Linked DNA regions of Homo sapiens: region 2 is linked to region 1. The links are contacts of gene promoters, found by promoter capture Hi-C in blood cells and fetal thymus (Javierre and others, 2016). All regions are on one chromosome and are shown on one strand. The core of a region is centred on a gene start or on the middle of the fragment in contact, and the rest is flanking DNA. Distances in the headings are between cores, read along the strand shown. Region 1 holds the start of RARRES1 (retinoic acid receptor responder 1). Region 2 overlaps GFM1 (G elongation factor mitochondrial 1).

Region 1 (2,925 bases), core at 284-2,783:
CAGGCATGCGCCACCACACCCAGCTAATTTTGTATTTTTAGTAGAGACAGGGTTTCTCCATGTTGGTCAGGCTGGTCTCGAACTCCCGACCTCAGGTGATCCACCTGTCTCGGCCTCCCAAAGTGCTGGGATTACAGGCGTGAGCCACCGTGCCTGGCCAGGTTGCCTTTTTCTAGGAACAATTTGATTTAATCATTCAATAAATACAGCCGTGCCGGGTACAGGAATAAGTTTTGAAGAACCGAGGCTGAGCTTCTTGAAGGACTTTCCAATGGTGTTTGCTTCCAGGCGTTTGGCACTGTTAAATGAAAATCCTGCTGCTACACTTTAAAACTCGACCTATTTATTAAATACATGCGATACTCAATTCCAGATTCTTTGAGGCCGTGTGTCTGCAGGCTTTGTGGAATATCTGGAGGTTGTAGAAGGAGCAACTTTGCTTTTGGGACAGACTTAGTGTAGTTCTGTAACTTTTGTAATCTATAGGATGAAGAACGCAAAGTAGCTTCACACATACGAGACAATTCCTACAGTCAATGCCTTGAAATCAGCAACCAAACAACGGGTTGCAAAGTTCTCATTCATTCGGTTCATATAGAACACTGGGCTCGGATTCACTCACTTCTAATTAGATCAAATCAGACGCCAGCATTAGCAGGTTTCTGCCCAGGCCTACGTGTAAATTCCAACCACATTACCCCGAAGCCCTAGCGTGGTGGACTGCAATTAACAAGAGACAGTCGTCCGCGGTATGGTATGGCTACTGGCTTAGATTTTGGAAATCCCGCCCAAAACTTTGGCTGCAGCCACTAGTAGGGCGCAGGCACAGTAAGCACCCCCATAGCAACCAACTCTGGGTACCTCCGGACAAAATTAAATGTTGCCCTTTCAGCCTGTTCCTCAATTTCCCAAAGCATCTCTTTCCCAGGTGTGGGAGCAGTCAAGAGCGCTGCCCTGTGAAAAACCTATGACCTCATAAATGCTGGAAGGAACGAGCCAGATTTCTGCAGACGCTGTGCACCGAAGGGGCCCCTTCCACGCCCTGGGATACTTCAGGGGCGCCAGGCCCAGCTGGGATCTCCCCGGGCGTCGTGCGCACTGCACCTTCCCTGGCGGACCATCCGTTGGGCCGGCAGGCGCGCGTACCCAGGTGTCACCTCCCAGCGCCGTGCGCGGACAGGCAGGCGCGTGCCCCGGCGCGTCGCTCCGCACTCACCCACGCGCGGCCCTCCTGCACCTCGGCCAGCACTCGTAGCGCGCTGGGCGAGCCGGACCGGAAGTTGAAGAAGTGAAGCGCCGCGCGCGCCGCCTGCTGCAGGAGCCTGCGCGGGACCCCAGCATCCTGAGGCTGCCCAGGGTCGTCGGGGTCCCCGGACCCCGCGGGCGCCGCCACCGGGGCGAGCAACAGCAGCAGCGCGAGCAGCGGGGCGGTGGGGCGCGGGCCCCTGGGCCCGGACCAGGGAGCAGGCAGCCGTTGCCGGCGGGGCTGCATGGACGCAGGAAAGTTGGCTCGGCACCCGACAGACACGGGCTCGGAGCGGGCAGTGCCGGCGCTCGCGGAAATAAGGCCGTGGTGGGCCCCTCCCCTCCGCCCCCAGGGCGAAGGTCTGTAGCGAGCCCGGGTCCCCATGGGGCCACTCCTTTTCCACGTTTCCCGCAGCCCCTGGGTTCTCTCTGCCCCTCCCCGCTGCCCGGGCTTAGTGCTAGGATGCGGCATCGCCTCCGCAGCGCAGGGCCGGGTGCTTCTGGCCCAGGCCGCGGCGGGAGAGGGTCGGGGTTGGGGGGACAATGGGGACGCCTCCCCGAGGAATCGCGGCCCGCCCGTGCTACCTCGTACCGCGTCCCTAGCCCAGCTCAGGGACTTGGCGTTTCCCCTGCGGTTTCGCAACCCTGGGGTTTTAGAGGGAAACTGCTTGGATTCTCCAAGCATTAGGGCTGTGATTTCCCAGCAGGTGAAAGGGGACGGCGGAGAAAGGGGCAGGCCGCAGCGGGCATTGATGGGGCTCCTCGTGGCACAGCCACTGTGGAGGTGGGAGAAGTCGCCAGAGGGCTGGGGCTGGGGAGGAGGTGAAGGTGGATGCCGGCAGGGAGCCCGGGACGCCGGAGCCAGGGGCTGGGGACGGGCCTGAACACCTGCCGGTCCTGCCCAGAAGAGGCGCCGAGGAGGGAGGAGTGGGCAGCAAGGCAGGGTAAGATAAGGCCTGAGAGTCCCATTTGTCTCAGAAGCAAGTAGGTCATTGATACATTGATAACCACTGTGCGAGGCAGATTTAAAGGCCGGGGATGGAAGTCGGATTCCAGCGGGGTGAGGCATGGATGGGGCTTCAGGGAATGGAGGCAGCAAGTGTTGGCAACTCTTTTTTTTTTTTTTTTTTTTGAGACCATGTCTTGCTCTGTCTCCCAGGCTGGAGTGCAGTGGCACGATCTTGGCTCACTGCAACCTCCGCCTCCCAGGTTCAAGCAATTCTACCTCAGCCTCCCGAGTAGCTGGGACTACAGCCACCATGCCCGGCTAATTTTTGTATTTTTAGTAAAGACGGGGTTTCACCATGTTGGTCAGGCTGGTCTCAAACTCCTGACCTCGTGAGCCGCCCGCCTGGGCCTCCCAAAGTGCTGGGATTACAGGCGTGAGCCACGGTACCCGGCGGCAACTCTTTTTAGACAGGTGGCAGTGAAGGGCTAAGATAGCCATTGTTTTTAAACCGTAGGCAAGAGAAAAAGTCCTGGAGAACCAGGGCTGAGAGAGGAGAACTGGTACTGCTAGGCACTCCCAACATCCATTTCTCCATCCTGCATTTTGTTCAGGGGTCTACCCCTGCACCAAACGTGGACCCCAGTGCCATTGTGGGGCTAAAGGAAATCTCTTTTTGCCAGTGGGTGGTTGAGAGTGGGCATGTGCCAGTTCTGCATGGTGAGCAAAGCCTG
Region 2 (2,925 bases), core at 82-2,581, 74 kb before region 1:
TTAATATCAGCGTGGACTCACGTATATGTATTTTGAACTTTGAGTTATAACTATGACTTTGAGTATGTCATTTGTTGTTCAGATTGGCTGGGTTTGGCGATTGGGAACTCTCAGTTGGCTCCTGTGTTCCTTTAACATCTTCCAATGTTTTGCCTTTTTGAATACTTCCTTACTTGCTGGCACTACAAGACGCCTCAGGCTTATCTTGTATATTCCATGCCCTAACCCTAGAATCAGCCGTTCTCCAAGGAGCACTGGTTCCTTTTTAAGTAAAATGGTATTAGAAACCAAGATTTGGGGACTGGATGGGCTTTTTGTTGAAATGCTGTTGCTTCTGTACATAATATTTTAAGTGGGGAAAAATGGTAGATAAGTTGGAAGTGTTAAGAGTGGTTATTTCTGGGATGGGATTATATTTTGGGGGCTTTTTCTTACTTTAAAAATATTTTACAGTATATTTATTACCTCCAAAATGAGGGGAAAATTTTTTTAATTAAAAAGTGGAAATAACATTACAGTAAAAGTATTTACACATAAAGCTTTTAAAAATACATATATAAGAATATTTTCTTAGGATTCCCAGAATAGTGATTATTGAGTTAAAGGCATAGAATGTTTTCATAGTTAATGGTTTATATTGCCAGATTGCGTTCATACTCTCCAAATTAATGTATTGGATTATTTCAATGAATATCATCATTGAGTATTGTTTAAAAATCATTACTGATTTAACAAATGAAGAATTCTATTGTAATCTTTTATCTTGATGAAATAAATTTTGATTTTTAAAAGCAATCAGTGCTTTAAAGTTTGTATAGTCGAATATGTCAGTCTTTCTGTTTAGTCATTCATTAATTTTTAACCTTAGCAACCTTTTATTTGTATATATTTTGTTAATATTTACTTTCGTTCCTTCTACTTCTTTATGTTTTTTTTCTTTCCCCATCATTAATTCAACTGGAATTTGTTTTAGTGGGTAGGATCTAAATGTATCTCCTCTGCCTCCAAATAGAGTATCAGTTGTCCAGTTAGTACTTTATGCACAATCCTTTCTTCCTTTTCCATTGATTTGTCATGTTTCTTTATCATCTATTGACAAATATATTTTATACTTTAGATTTTTATACTGTACTCTGTGGGGTGTTTAGTCTAATTTGTGCTGGTTCTGAATTTTCTGAGTTTCAAGCATTTTAATATGTTTTTATATCTGTCAGGGTTAGTTTTATCTTATTACCATAGTTTTTGAAAAATTTCTGTTTTTACCTATTTATTCCTCTGAATGAATTTTAAAATCACTAATCATGTTTAAAATTTCCTGTTGGGATTTCGATTGCTATTTTGTTAAGCCTATAATTAACATGGTAAGAACTGGGAACTGTTAAATATATGTTAATTGGTCACTGCTAGTATATTCAATCACTTCACAGAACTCTTTTTTTTTTTTTTTTTTTTTTTGAGACAGAGTCTCACCTATTCTGTTGCCCAGGTTGGAGTGCAGTGGTGCGATCTCGGCTCACTGCAACCTCCGCCTCCTGGGTTTAAGCAATTTTCCTGCCTCAGCTTCCCGAGTAGCTGGGATTATAGGTGTGCCACCACGTCTGGCTGATTTTTGTATTTTTAGTAGAGGTGGGGTTTTGCCATGTTGGCCAGGCTGGTCTTGAACTCCTGACCTCAGGTGATCCGCTCGCCTCTGCCTCCCAGAGTGCTGGGATTACAGGCCTGAGCGACCAGCCCAGCCACAGAACTCTTACTCACATAATTTTCCACGTGATTGTCAGAGATTGTGTTTTAGATGTATAGCACACACCTACTGTTTCTAATAGTATCTTTGTTGTTTTTCCAAGTATACCTTTTTTTTGTTTTATATCTTATTGTATTAAACTTATGAAATGTTAGAAGGCAAAAGATACTTCCTTATTATGTAAACAACTTAAAAATTTTGTTCTAATGTAATAGCTTATTTCAAAGGAAACAGAAATGTCTTAGATTGTGATACCAAAAGGATTGATGAATAACAGCCATTTATCTTATCTGTGTTCAAAGCTAGTATTAGTTTATGACAATAAACTGAAATATGTAAGATAGATTACTAAAATTGGTAGAGAATACTTGGAGGGAGTTATGAAGCTTTCCTCAATACTTTGATTATTATGTTTCTTTTTATTCTTCCTGCCCTTACCCAATCTTGACTTCTAGGTAGGTCGATTTGGACAATTAACTTATGTTCGCAGTTATCAGGGAGAGCTAAAGAAGGGTGACACCATCTATAACACAAGGACAAGAAAGAAAGTACGGTTGCAACGGCTGGCTCGCATGCATGCCGACATGATGGAGGCAAGTACAGAGTCATTGTGAGATTAGAAATTCCTCTGATGTGGGTGAAATAGACCCTTCTTGGTATCCTGAGCCCCACTAGAAAATTAATTCTGGTTAAATATATGTTTCTAGTTTCTTTCTACTTAAATGTGTTGTAGCTCTGATCTAGCACTTTGCTATAGGATAAATTAGCAGTTGTTAACTCATTTTTTTTAATACCGCTAGTTGTGAATTAGCTATATTTTCTCAAGGGCCAAGGTTAAGGAAAGAGACAGTTCCCCAACACTCAGAATACAAGATTCAGCACTTTCCTCAAGAACTATTATTACAAAAAATGTAATAGGCATTTAAGACTGTGGAACTGTGATTCTTAAAGATAAGAGAATAATAAATTTACACAGTTTTCCACATTGTTTTATTTACCTTCTGAAATACGGCAGGCACAAAAGCCCTGTTTAACCCTAGAGCTTCTATTCCTGTTGTAGAACCCACTGCAGGACCATATTGGGGCCAGAATCCACCTGAAGATTTAAAAGCTTCAAGGGCTGATCTGGGAGATAAACTTTGACTTACGCCTTGAATTCTTGAGCTGGCTTGGAATCTGCTGTA

The links. The method cuts DNA at HindIII sites, captures the fragments that hold promoters and counts their contacts. A CHiCAGO score of 5 or more calls a contact.
Region 2: a contact is called between a fragment that was not itself captured here and the fragment with the promoter of RARRES1 in region 1, in 3 of 17 cell types (neutrophils, erythroblasts and megakaryocytes). The highest score is 7.9, in neutrophils.

Annotation. Positions count from the first base shown.
Region 1 is chr3:158,730,924-158,733,848 of GRCh38, forward strand. RARRES1 (retinoic acid receptor responder 1) reads right to left here and starts at 1,534. Exons shown (of 6, transcript NM_206963.2): 1 at 1,217-1,534. The coding sequence starts at 1,492. It overlaps LOC100287290 (a long non-coding RNA gene), which reads left to right and starts at 1,438. Exons shown (of 5, transcript NR_171782.1): 1 at 1,438-1,605. RefSeq lists a silencer at 1,349-1,408 and an enhancer at 1,486-1,986. The HindIII fragment of the contact is 14,465 bases long and covers 1-2,925 here.
Region 2 is chr3:158,656,726-158,659,650 of GRCh38, forward strand. GFM1 (G elongation factor mitochondrial 1) reads left to right here. Exons shown (of 18, transcript NM_024996.7): 9 at 2,197-2,334. Among named protein-coding and RNA genes, the nearest start is that of GFM1, 14 kb to the left of the region's middle. The HindIII fragment of the contact is 1,588 bases long and covers 538-2,125 here.